Regions from separate parts of the Homo sapiens genome. Here region 2 is linked to region 1. Evidence: promoter capture Hi-C in 16 types of primary human blood cells and fetal thymus (Javierre and others, 2016). All regions are on one chromosome and are shown on one strand. The core of a region is centred on a gene start or on the middle of the fragment in contact, and the rest is flanking DNA. Distances in the headings are between cores, read along the strand shown.

The links. The method cuts DNA at HindIII sites, captures the fragments that hold promoters and counts their contacts. A CHiCAGO score of 5 or more calls a contact.
Region 2: a fragment that was not itself captured here is called in contact with the fragment with the promoter of SLURP1 in region 1 in 2 of 17 cell types (total CD8 T cells and naive CD8 T cells); the score reaches 7.5 in total CD8 T cells.

Annotation. Positions count from the first base shown.
Region 1 is chr8:142,737,287-142,744,133 of GRCh38, reverse strand. It overlaps SLURP1 (secreted LY6/PLAUR domain containing 1), which reads left to right and starts at 1,728. Exons shown (of 3, transcript NM_020427.3): 1 at 1,728-1,806; 2 at 2,212-2,331; 3 at 2,858-3,185. The coding sequence starts at 1,749. The coding sequence ends at 2,991. RefSeq lists silencers at 4,531-4,610, 4,651-4,930 and an enhancer at 5,179-5,745. The HindIII fragment of the contact is 7,810 bases long and covers 1-6,075 here.
Region 2 is chr8:142,984,152-142,991,074 of GRCh38, reverse strand. All of the region lies in intron 1 of LY6E-DT (LY6E divergent transcript), which reads left to right. Among named protein-coding and RNA genes, the nearest start is that of LY6E-DT, 31 kb to the left of the region's middle. RefSeq lists an enhancer at 1,838-2,339. The HindIII fragment of the contact is 2,620 bases long and covers 1,181-3,800 here.

The sequences.
Region 1 (6,847 bases), core at 479-2,978:
CTATCCATCTACCCATCCAGCCATCTATCCATCCCCCACTCATCCTCCACTCATCCCCCACCCATCCACCCATACATCCTCCACCCATTCCCCATCCATCCCTCATCCATTCCATATTCATCCCCCACTCATCCATCCACCCATCCATCCACCCATCCATCCATCTATCCATCCATCCCCCACCCATCCTTCATTCATCCCTGACCCATCCACCCATACATCCTCCACCCATTTCCCATCCATCTCCCACCATCCACCCATCCATCCCATATTCATCCCCCACTCATCAGCTACCCATCCATCCACCCATCCATCCATCCACCCAACCATCCCCAACCCATCCTCCATTCATCCCCCACCCATCCACCCATCCATCCTCCACCCATTTCCCATCCATCCCCCATCCATCCAACCATCCATCCCCCATCCATCCCATATTCATCCCCCACTCATCCATCTACCCATCCATCCACCCATCCATCCATCCATCCACCTATCCATCCATCTATGCATCCATCCCCCACCCATCCTCCATTCATCCCCAACTTATCCACCCATACATCCTTCACCCATTTCCTATCCATCTCTTACCATCCATCCATCCATCCCATATTCATCCCCCACTAATCCATCTACCCATCCATCCACCCATCCACTCATGCATCCACCCATCCATCTCCCATTCATTTACCCATCCATCCCCCACCCATCTATCCATCCATCCCCTATCCATCGCCTATTCATCCCCCATTCATCCATCCCCCATCCATCCATCCATCAACTCATCCATCTATACAACCACCCATTGGGACATCACAGGACAGAGAAACCAGAGAGGCTGGTATACCTGGAAGGACTGTGGAGAGGGGCACCTTAGTGGGTCTCACAGCATGGGGAAGATGTGGGACATCAGATGGGAGACCAGGCAATGTGGTCATTGAGCGGTATGGCATAGGCAGGCATGCGTGTGGAACAGGGTGTCGTGGGGGGCACGCAGTAAAGAGCAGACAACACAGTCAGGCCAGGAGGCTGGAGGGTGAGCAGAACCTTATTGTCAGGCGCCTAAAATCAAGAAACTCAGGTTTGGTCTAAAGGCCATTAGTGGGAAGGGGCTGGCAGTGATGAGGGGCCACTCCTGGGCCCAACCTTGTCAGCCTGAGAGTGGTCTAGCTGGCCCATGCTACCCTCACCTGACACCTGCTTCCTACCTCTGGTTTCTACTTTGCAGGTGTGTATCAGGTGTACACAGACCAGGTAGAGGTCTGTGGAGAGGGCTGCAGGCCAGGCTGCAGGGAAGGGGTGCCAGGCGGGGCTAGAGCAACAAGGGCAGAGGCTACACTGAACCTGGGTCTTAAGGGTCCCCCAGGCTGGGGCTGGGTGGCCTATGTGAACCCCAGAGGCACAGCCAGGACATGGGGGCTCATCAGAGGGGCAGTCTGAGCTCAGCAGGAAAGGCCTTCTCTGTCAGAGCTGTCCCAGGACCACTGGACATGGCTGAGGAACAGTGAGTTCCCCAGTGTTGGAGGTGTGCAAGCAGAGGCCTGGCCATCGTCCTCAGACAGAGCTCCCAGATCCAGCTCCCTGCCCGTCTGCCATGTTCCTGCCAGCTGCCTCCCCACTGGGCCCTTTACCACGTTCCTGACTCACACGGCCGGTTCTGCCACCGCCCAGAAGCCGGTGCCCAAGGGCCTGGGTATAAATCCTTGATGTGAGGCTGGCTACCTCTCATCACTTCTGAGCACGGAGCAATGGCCTCTCGCTGGGCTGTGCAGCTGCTGCTCGTGGCAGCCTGGAGCATGGGCTGTGGTGAGTGGGCCGCAGGCTGGTGGGGACCCTGCCTCTGAGCTTGTCTGCCCACCTCCTAGGGGGATGGGGCTGTTGGGGGTGCTTTGTGGCTGAGAGCCTCCTTAGGCCTCCATGAGGCTCACCCTCCTCATTCTCAGTGAGCCTCCTGGGTCCCAGAGCCCAGCTTCACCCTGGGACAGGGGTCACGGCTCCACTCTGCAGGAAGGGAGACTGAGGCTTGGTGGAGGGATGCAGCATTCAAGTCTGTGGCTCAGCTCAGTTAGAGAAAGCTGCCAGAGAGGCCCCTTGAAGGGCTGCCCGGGGCCTTGAAAGATGTCAGCGAGACTCCTTCAGCCCCTGCCTCCTGGTTCCAGGATGAGGCCACCGAGGTCAGGTGATGAGGTTCTGCCCCCATCCCTCACCCAGGTGAGGCCCTCAAGTGCTACACCTGCAAGGAGCCCATGACCAGTGCTTCCTGCAGGACCATTACCCGCTGCAAGCCAGAGGACACAGCCTGCATGACCACGCTGGTGACGGTGGAGGCAGGTGAGGCCAGGCCCCACGGCAGCCCTGGGTGCACTGGAGTCAGGGCCACCTCCCCCAAGTGCCTCCCTCCTTTGCTGGTGCTCCTCCCGGCCCAAAAGGCAGCAGGTGGGATGGGCAGAACAGGCTGCCACACCTTGGCAGGGGTGCCTTCCACGAGGGTGGCACAGCCCCCTCAGAGACCCAGTCCTGGGGCACCAGGCGCTGGAGGTGGGTGGGGCTTAATGGCCGGGGTACCCTGGGGGGCTCAAACCCCAGCTCTGACACAGACCCACTGGGTGGTGTTGCCACAGCCTCTGGGCTCGGGCTCCCATCTCAGCGCAGGCACTTCAGAGGTCTGACAAGGCCTAATAATTCATGAACAGGTCACAGTCAGAGGAGGGCTGGGCCCTGGGTGGCTTCACAGATGTGGACTATTGGGAACAGGGATCACAGGGAGGGTGAGGTCAGGCGACGGCGGCTGGGAGCAGTGCAGCAGCAGGCAGGCGCTGCAGGGGAGTGAGGGTTCTGACACTGGCCCACCCTGCAGAGTACCCCTTCAACCAGAGCCCCGTGGTGACCCGCTCCTGCTCCAGCTCCTGTGTGGCCACCGACCCCGACAGCATCGGGGCCGCCCACCTGATCTTCTGCTGCTTCCGAGACCTCTGCAACTCGGAACTCTGAACCCAGGGCGGCAGGGCGGAAGGTGCTCCTCAGGCACCTCCTCTCTGACGGGGCCTGGCTCCACCTGTGATCACCTCCCCCTGCTTCCTGCTGCTGTGGCACAGCTCACTCATGGGGTCTGAGGGGAGAGAAGCACACCAGGGGCGCCCTCTGCCTTCCATACCCCACGCTTATAAAACATAACTAAGCCAAGAGTGGACATGACTTTTGTCCTTCCTGGGCACTGACACCCTACAGAACTGGCCTTCAGGAGAGCCAGGCTGAAGGACAGCACATTCTAGGCACCTGCTCCTCCCTCTCACCCAGAGCCTCTGTGACCCATTTCACAGATAGGAAAACAGAGACTTAGGGGAAGAAATGCCTCCTGGGCCCCTTTCCTGATGCAAACTAGCCTGGCATCTCAGACCAGGACCTGTACCCTAGCCCAGGGAACATCTCCCGCTAAGAATCTCCCCTGTAAACCCTGGAGACATCGCTCCCACCCTAGAGAGGGAAGGAAGCTCAGAGTTGGCATCCACTTTCCTCCAAGGGTGGATACATCTGGCTCTGCCTGCCCAGCCCAAGGGGTCTTCCTGGGTGTGTGCACCTGGGCCTGCTGGTACCACACAGCTCCACGGTTTCAGTCACCTCCTCTGACAACTGCCCACTGTCCCCTTGGGACAGCTGAGATTAGCGGAGGAGCCCCGGGTTCTCAGGACCCAGGAGACCTGACTTCCAGGCTCGCTTCCCCCTCTTCCTGGCCCTGGCTGTCCCATCACAGTCACAGTGCTCTGTGCCACTGTCACCCCTGTCGGCAGGTGGGCAGAGCCAACGGGGAGCACGGGCTGCTGTGGGCCTGAGCCACCCCTGGACACTGCCCCTCTCCAGGCCCCAGTCCCCTGGTGTCTCCTGGGCTGCACACCATCTAAGCGCTGCCCAGCTAGGTCTTGGGTTCTAAGGCCCCACACATCAGCTGGGTCACGCCCGTGGGGTCTTGTGGGCACCTGTGCCTGCTGGGGTGGGAGCGGTATGCAGCAGGCTGTGGTCAGACCAGCTGGGCATACCCGAGGAGCATGCGGGAGTAACCAGGGCAGTGGCGGGGGTCGCCTAGGACCCCTGTGAGAGCCCACCTCTGTCTATGAAGGGCCCAGATGTCAGAACCCACCCCCTACCTCTACGCCCTCCCAGAAATACCAGGAATTAAATGCTGTCCCTGGGGAGCAGCCCCGACCAGAGAAAGCTGCCAGAGAGGCCCCCTTGAAGGGCTACCCCGGGCCTCCCCGTTGGCCAGCACCGGGCCGGCGGCGTGGCTTCCGGTTAGGGCCCGTCCCCTGGGTCATGGCCGGACCTCCAAGGGCCTCACCCGGGCCTCGATTGGAGCCAAGGGGGCAGGGCCTTGGCCTCACCAGGGGGACGGAGCAAGAAGTCGCCGCATCTCTGGCAGCGTCCCCAGCGGCACAATGGGGATGAGGCCTCCAGGCTCTTTGGGAGCGCAGTGGTGAAGGCTCAGCAGGTGCCCCTATCCCTGGGAGGGCACCTGCGAGGGGCCCCCGATGCTGAGCCCGCACGGCCAGCAGAGGGCGCGCGCCCGAGTCCCGGAACCCGCGCCAGGAAGACTCGTCCCAGAGCGCGCACCGCGAGCACGCGGCGACCCTGTGCGCTCTGCCCGGAACCTGCACTGCGCGCGCAGCTGGGCCGCCTGGACCGTAGGGGTCCGCAGCACAGAGTTCAGAGAGCCCTGGCCCTCTCGGCCGGCCTGGAGGACGCCCACCTGCCCTGCCTGTCGCCGCGACCCTCCCAGGAAATGCGTGGGGAGGCCACGGCCAGGGAGGGACCTCGGGAGGGCGCGCCCACGGGGTGGGGCTCGCGGAGGCCAGGCGCTCACCACCCGGGCGCGCGGGGTCTAGGGAGGTGAGTGGGCGTCGCATCCGTGACCGTCGCAGGACGTGGGTAAAGCTGGCGGGGAAGCAGCCAGCCGCCAAGAGGTGGCGGTGGAGGGGAGGGAGAAGGGCGCCCACCCGTGCCGCTAGGCCCTACTGCGCGGAGGGGAAGCAGAGGCCCTTCTGAACCCCACTACCGCGGAGAGGTCAGACCAGCCAGCGCTAGTCTTCCGCAGCTTTAAGAAATCTCTAAAGGAGAGGGGTGTGCAGACCGCAGGGCGTCCCTCCCCGCCCTCAGGAGCAAGACCCTCCACCTCCCCAAGGGTGCCCCCAACTCGCAGGTGTCCAGAGGGGAAGTCATGCGGGGAGCGGCGGCCTGGGCCTGGGACGAATCAGCCCCTTTGGCCTGCCTCGTTGAGCCCCTGGCGGCCATACTGGGAATTCCCTGCCCTAGTCTGTTTCCCTATCCATGAGGTGGGCGATGGTCCTGCTGTCCCAGAATTCCGGACACCAGGCACAGTAGAACTCCACTCAGCAAGGCCTCAGATGTGGGGATCTGTGTCCCTGGGCCCTGAGGGGACACAACAGTGGCCAGTCAGCTGACTGAGCCCAGAGGCGGTGGCTGGATGCTGAGACTGAGCAGGCAACTGACCTAGGGTGAGCCCCGGGGACACCCACCAAAGCAGTCGTGACTCTGTCCACCTGGCCATCAGAGGGCACAGTGCCTCCTCCCCCAGGACGACGGACCCATGCACAGCCACCACCCCAGGACCTCCGGACACACTCCCATACCCTGTACCTGTCCCTTCTTCACCAGCATCCACCAAGGGCTTCCTGGGCCCGACACCTGGACACTGTGCAGACACCTCCGGGGGTGGGGGCGGCTGGGGCAGAAATTCTGCAGCTGTTGGCCTTGGGGGAAGGACGCGGGCCGAAGCAGTTGCTGCCCTCTAACTTCTCCGAGTGGCAGGCTCACAGGAGCAGAGTGGGCTCCAGTGGCTCCGCCAGGACAAGGCACTGGTTCACTTCCAATCCCAGCCACCCATTCCCTGACCCGGGCCAGTCCTGTCGTCAGCCCGTCCTCCAAAAACAAGACCAAGAGAGGGCCCTGCTGGCTCAAACCTTCCTCTGAGCCAGCCTATGACAGCCCAGGGTGTTCAGCTTCTGCATGGAGAGAGAAGCCCCAGAGGCTTGCGGGTGCTGCCCATTCAACCACCTTGAAGCTTGCCCGTTGCCTGCGTGCACGTGCGCACACACACACACACACACACAAATGCACACAGGCACGCACATCCATATGCGCACTGGATACACTCATTCCTAGTCCAGTCACTGAGCCCTACTCCCTATCCAGGCCAATGTGCCTTCCACGACCCAGAGGTAGCTGCTGAGCCAGGGACCGCAGTGGCATCATCACATGGTGCCCTCCCAAGGCCCAGGCACCCTGTCCTGTGGCCCCCGCCCTGCTCCAGGGCTCAGGCAGATGGTCAGGACCATCAGCTGGACGGCATCCCTACAGCTTCATCTGCAGCCCCACTGGGAAGCTTGTCTGGCAACACTCAGCTCACACACCTGTGGCGACCCCACGAGCCACCTCCCCCAAGGACCCCAGAGAAAGCACAGAGGCTTCTGGCCAACCAGTCTGGCTACAGACCCCAGATTTGCTGAGCAAGTTTGCTTCCCCTCCCCAGCCCTACTGCCCCATCACTAAATGCCGGTTTCATAGCTGTTTCCAACTGCCCACTCCTTCCCTGGCCCTCAGAGCCTTCTGGACCCTCCCAGGAAGGTGGTCACAGCATGGACGTGGCCACACCCCGCCTCACTCAACTTTATGTCCCGGAGGGTCCCACTTCTCCCCACCCCTTTTGAAGGGCCTGCAGAACAGCCCCCATGCTCTCTCTGCCTCCTGTCCACCCACCAGTCCATTGACCTCTGCCCCCAATGGCTACCAGCACCCTGCCCGAGGCTCTGGGAGCCTGGAGGGCCAGACCCAGAGT
Region 2 (6,923 bases), core at 1,241-3,740, 250 kb before region 1:
TGGGTGGAGACTGGGTGGTGGGTGGAGGCTGTTGGTGGTGGGTAGAGCCTGTGGGTGGTTAGAGGCCATGGGTGGAGACTGTGGGTGGTGGATAGAGGCTGTGGGTGGTGGGTGGAGGCTGTGGTTGGAGGCTGTGGGCGGTGGGTGGAAGCTGTGAGTGGTGGGGTGGATGCTGGGGAGGCTTTCCTGGACAGAAAAAGCGCTGAGTAGCACCCCTGAGGCGCAGCGGGAGAAACCTCTCTTTGTGCGGTAGCCAGGGGCGGGACAATGTGGGGTTGCCCATGTAGGTTATGAGACTGGAACCACATATTCCAAACACGGGTTTCACGAGGCCAGGCCCAGTGCACTGTGAACCCATCCTTACACACACACACACACACACACACACACACACCACAAATGCATACCTACCAAACGCATAGACACACAACACAAATGCACACCTACCAAACACACACACGCACACCTACCACACACCCATACACCCACATTGCACACACATGCACACCTACCACACCCCCACACACATGCACCCCTACCACACACCTACACACCACACACATGCACACCTACCACACACACACCACACACATGCACACCTACCACACCCACACACACCACACACATGCACACCTACCACACACCCACACATTCACACCACACACATGCACACCTACCACACACACACACCACACACATGCACACCTACCACACACCTACACACACCACACACATGCACACCTACCACACCCACACACACGCACACCTACCACACCCACACACCACACACATGCACACCTACCACACCCACACACCACACACATGCACACCTACCACACACCCCCACACATATGCACACCTATCACACCCACACACCCACACCACACAGATGCACACCTACCACACACCCACACACCACACACATGCACACCTACCTCACACCCCCACACACACCACACACATGCACACCTACCTCACACCCACATACACACCATACATAAACGTGCACGCCCATCATACCCACACACTGACACACACATTTGTGCACGGGCACACCACGCACACCACAGCACATCACATGCATGCATGTGTACACACGCTCCCCCCATGCATGGACGTGCTGTGAGCCTGGGAGCCAGGCTCTTGGTGCACTGTGTCAGGGGTGTGTAAAATGAAAGCTTTTTGAATTAGACACACAGGTGGCCATTCCAGAGCCCTCCTGTGCACATGTCATGTCGCGTTCAGTCACTTAGCGCTGTGGACGTCCCAGCTCAGAGACGGCAAGGAGCCCTGCATGGGTTCGCCCGCGACGGCGTGCTGGCTTGGTTGAGACTCAGAGGCTGGGATGTCCAGAGGCGGCCCCACTACATCCATTCTGCCCTCTGTGGGCACACCTTGCTCTCCCGCAGAGACTAGAAAGCCAAACACGTTTCCCAAACTCCTTTCAGCAGAGTGTCTGGAAGTGGCTTCGGTGCTGTCGAGCGATGCTAGGTTTATGGTTTGGAAGGAGGGCGCTCCTGTCTCTGTCGGCGTGCGACACATCCCCAACTTACAGCTGAAAACAGCCATCTTATTTTGGTCATATTTTAGGGTGAGGAATTCGGGGAGGGGTCTTTGGGGCAATTCTTTCCTGAGTCTGTCATATGAGTGTGTTCAGAAGTCACTGGGCTGTGAGTCCAAGATGGGACACCCATGAGGCTGGAGCTCTGGCGGGGCTGTTGCCTGGACGCCACACATGGTGTCTGCAGAGTGGCGCTCACAGGGTGCTGGGCTTTTCCGCATGGGGCTGGTCTCCTCTCGTGGAGCCTCCGAAGATGTCAGGTGGGAGCTGCAGGGCGTTTCTGACGTGGCCGCAGGAGCCCTGTGCCTCCACTCCCTTCTCAGACCTCACCTCTCCGTGGGACAGCCCCACAGAACTTGCAGAGCTGTTAAAGGCTGTTGCAGAGGGAGGTGGCACCCTGGGGGCCGCAGCAGCCCGGGGAGTGTGGCTCCCCCGCAGGCGTGGAGACTGGGCTCTAGGTGTTTCTGGGGCAACTCAAGCGGAGATTCTGGAGACGCTCACATCTGCTGGAATGCAGGCTTTTCGTTCGTAGAAACAGCAAGCGGCCATGAGTGTGATTAATTGGGAATTGGAGGTGAGTAGAGGGTTTCACGGTCTCCTAAACCAACCTGAGGAAACAGGTGGTCATTGTTGGCATTTAACTGTGAGTATTTCCAAAGCCCGCCGTAGATTGAAACTCACTGCCGTAGCTGTGCAGGGTGTGGACAGGATGGGGATGGGGGTTGGTCTCAGTAGGGAGGCAGGGTCCCCGTTTTTACTAACATCAGATTTACAGGATCAGCTCGACAAACAGACTGCTTTTTTCTGGCTGGCTGAAAATAAATGGGAGAGAGAAAATAAAACAATACTGGTGCATTAGTTATCTATTGTCACATTAAAAGAATTGCTCTGAAACTTAGAGGTTTACAACGTCAAAAAGCATTTACGATCGCAGTTTCTGTGGGTTGTTCAGAAAAGCCTGCTGGGTGGCGCTCTGTGGCGAGCAGGTCTATGCCACTTACCCACAAAGGCTGAGGGAGCTGAGAGGCTGAAGAAAAAGGCCGACAAATCCTGTTTCTCAGAAAGAAACATTCAACAGTGCGATGGGAGCAGAAGCCACGGTGCGGGCGGCCGCGAGATCCATGCATTGCTACCCGCGGACCCAGGGCTTAGGTAGCAGAGGGAAAGGGAGCGGGAGCTTCAGAAGGATGTGTAAGACAACTGGCCTACCCCTCAGGAAGAAGCAAGAATGCCGCCTGCTGGTCCACCCTCAGGAGAAGGCAAGAATGCCACCTGCACCGCAGCCTGTAACTCGCTTAAGGGCAGGATTTTGTGTTTACAATAACATTAAGGTTGTTTTGACCTAAGGACCCAGAACTAGGGTTCATCGGAAGTCCACATGGCGGGTCAGCATCCAAGATGGAGTCATTTTAGCCTTCGCCACAGGTGGTTCCGGCTGCGTGAGGCTAGATGTTGTCTGGGGTGAAGTGGTCCGAAGGCTCGGCTAGGGCTGGAGGACCCATCTCCTAGATGGTGCACTGTGCTGCCGGCAGGCAGATGCTGCCCTTTGGCGGGAGGCCTTGGATTCTTGGCACGTGGTCATCTCTGCACGTCTTCGCTGAGTGTCCTCATGGGTGGCCTCTTCCTCCACGCAGGGATCCCAGAGAGCACAGCGGAGGCTGCAGTGTTCTTTGCAGCCTCATGTCTGAAGTCACACAGTGTCACTCTGCCACATTCCATGTGTGGGGTGTGAGCCTCTAAGGCTGATTCTGCCTTTAGAAAGGAGGGGTATCAAAGACGTCGGAACATATTTCAACAAAGACATGACTATAAAAAATAAAATGATTAAGTGAATTATATCATATGTATAATTTTATGGCAAGAAATGTGAAAATTGAGAGGAAATACATTACCAGAATAAGTGGAAAACTTGGGTAAATCAAAAAAGGAAGAAATTGGCAAGTCCATTTAACATTTGTTAGTGCAAAATGTGCCAACACCAAATGGTTTTAAAGCTGACTTCTTCCTCATTGGTAAGGAACAAGTTCTTCTAGTATTTTAAAAAATATTCCAGAAAATAGAAAAAGGTGAAAATTTTTCCAATTCATATTATATAGCTAATGTAACTTCGTATCAAATTTTGATATAGTATGAGAAAAATATTCCAATTTATTTTGTAAAATGGACGCAAAAATCCAAATAAAATATCATAAATTTGTACACAGTCATTTATTAAGGAACAGCACACCATAGTCAAGCTTTGATTGCATACATGTAACAGTGACTTGATATTAGGAAGCAGAATATAATACATTACATCAGTACACTAAAGTACACAAATCATGTAATTATGTTGTAATTAGTGAAAAAAGTACTTGACGAAATTTAGCAGTCATTTCTCATAAAATCTTCTATTTAAAATAAAAGGGGGCCGGGTGTGGTGGCTCACGCCTGTAATCCCAGCACTTTGAGAGGCCAAGGTGGGCAGATCACTTGAAGTCAGGAATTTGAGACCAGCCTGGCCAACATGATGAAACCCATCACTACTAAAAATACAAGAATACAAAAATTAGCCGGGCGTGGAAGCACATGCCTTCAGTCCCAGCTACTCGGGAGGCTGAGGCAGGACAATCGCTTGAACCTGGGAGGCAGAGGTTCCAGTGAGCCGAGATCACGCCACTGCATTCCAGCCTGGGCGACAGAGTGAGATTCTGTCTCAAAAAAATAAAGTAAAATAAAATATGGAATTTAAATAATGCACCTACAAATCACACCTACTTTTTCAAAAAGGACAGATAACATATTAATTGATGAAATATTAGTGATCAGCATTAAAGCTGCGAAAAAGTCAGGGATGCCTGTCTCACTGCTACCCCTCAACCTGCATTTGGGGATCCTCATGGCAGATGAAGGCAGGCAGATGCAGTAGAGATTGTGCACGGTAGGCCAGAAGTGCTGACATTCTCCCCTCCCTGCAGAAGACAGGGATGCCCATCGAGAAGATCCAAAAGCTTCATTCATCTGATAACCTACAGAACCAATAAGATGCTTTGAGTAAGTGATTGAACATATAAAATTGCTTTTATGTACTGGCAACAACCAGTTATCATAGAAATTGAAATAATAACAATGAATTCTACATGTAACAGAGTCAAAAGCAACAAAATAATGCCTAAGAATATGTTTAATAGATGGCAAGATGACGAACCAGCACTGGCCACCGGCCCCTTGCCCCAGATCAACCCTGGGCAACGGCAGAAGGACACCCTGCCTAGCCCTCTTGGGGGTGGGGCTGGAGGCCAGGCTGGACACCCATTATATAGGATCTGAAAGTTCTTCTGAGGTAGGGCACGGCACACTGACACTCCAGAGATGAAAAGCAGAGCACTCTGTCACTTACAGCTCCAAACGAGGAAGGCGTCCAGGCAGGGCTGCATGAGGCACCCGGGGACAGGGTAGCAGACAGCTGGGGCTGCCGGGTGGCTGGTGTGTGGACAGCAGGTGGGGTGGCTGGGTTTCTGGGGCTCCCTGTGGATTGGCTAATTTGGGTGATTTTGAGCTCTGGGTCACAGGGCTGTCCCTGATAGTCTGGCCCTTGGCCCTGGGGCAGATTTGGACAAATGTGCAGTGGCCTGGAGTGTGAGGGGCCAATGAGGAGGTGGTTGGGTGTGGACTTAACTGGCTGCTCAAGGAGGGAACTGACCGGCCTCTAGGGCCTCAAAACTGGGTCAAGACAGCACATCAGTAATAATAAAACCCAAGATCACCCCACCAAGGCCAGGAGGGCAGGGTGTGTCCCAGAATGGAGGCGACTGGCCCCGGCACAGATGCACCTGCTGCCTGTGGGGTCAGGGTGTCTGCAGGCACTTCCCGATATCCACCCCTTGGATCTCTGGGTCTCACCTCCAGGGACCCAGCCTTGGTGCACAGACCTGCCTTGGCTGAGCATTAGAGCTTCCTGGGCTCGCACTCTGTTGTGTTCTGACTGCCCCACAGCTTTGCCCATCCTCTGCAGGGGCCCATGCCTTCACACTTGTCCTGACGCTTATGCACCTCCTGGTGTTCTCATTATCCCCTGTAGGGTTAGTGTGACTTGATGACGGCTAGCGCATGGCTGTCCCTATAGGCATTTGCCCCCAAGACCCTCCAGGCCGCTTAACCATCACATGGGCTAAAGCATAGTCCTTCCCGGGGTGCTTGCTCAGGCCACCGCCAGTGAACCCTCCGTGACCAGCCCCTGCCTTGAGCCAGGGACCATCCAGGTCCCACCTTCCACTCCAGGTGGCCCTCCCTTGCCAGGCAGGCCATGGCTGGCTGGTCTCAAAATCCCACTTGCTGTCTGCTTTCTCCCTTCCCTTTCCTCCCCCTCCCCTTTTTTTTGAGATGAAGGCTCGCTCTTGTGCCCCAGGCTGGAGTGCAATGGCACGATCTCCACTCACTGCAACCTCCGCCTCCCTGGTTCAAGCGATTCTCCTGCCTCAGCCTCCCGAGTATCTGGAATTATAGGTGCTTGCCACCACGCCTGGCTAATTTTTGAATTTTTAATAGAGATGGGGTTTCACCACGTTGGCCAGGCTGGTCTTGAACTCCTGACCTCAGGTGATCCGCCCACCTCAGCCTCTGAAAGTGCTGGGATTACAGCCGTGAACCACCGCGCCCGGCCTTGCTGTCTGTTTTCTTGGCCCATGGCCTGCTAGGACCCAAGAAGGATGTTGCATAGAAAGAGTTTCCAACTTCAGCACAGTTCTAAAAAAGCCTCAGCCAGCCATCAGGTTGCCTTCAAGCCAAAGATGCCCACCAGAGGACTCTTGCCATGGGCAGGAAAACAGCCAGCTCGAGTACCCTCTCTTGCCCTGTCCTTGTCGGGAGCAGCTGGAGGAAGCCCCAGGTTCAGTCCAGCCAAGGAGGTTCCTCCTGCACCCTCTTGGAGAGAGGTCTTGTGGCCACACGCAGCCAGCAGGGAGCAGCTGTGAGCTGCAAGCATCAGGAATTCATGCCAGTCTTTGCTGCCTTTATCCCTTGCGTGTTAATGTACTTGTAAAATCTCTCCTAGGGAATGCAGCCAGTTCACCTCTCAGCATCCCAAGTGGGAAAGGAGAAAAATCAGCTGGCCTGTCCTCATCCCCGGTCCCTGGGGGATCTGGGGGATAAAGAATAGAGGAGCTGCCAATCCTAGAGAACACTGGCTGTCCCTGTGTCCCTTCTGAGATGGGAGAGGCCATGTGGGGTGAACTTACAGGCTTGGGCTTTTGAAACAATTCAAACGGTGAGGCCTCACCAGTAGAGGGCAGAGAAACTACGGCAAGTTCTGGATTTTACCTTGAGTACTGCTATTATTTATTTATTTATTTATTTACTGAGATGGAGTTTCGCTCTTGTTGCC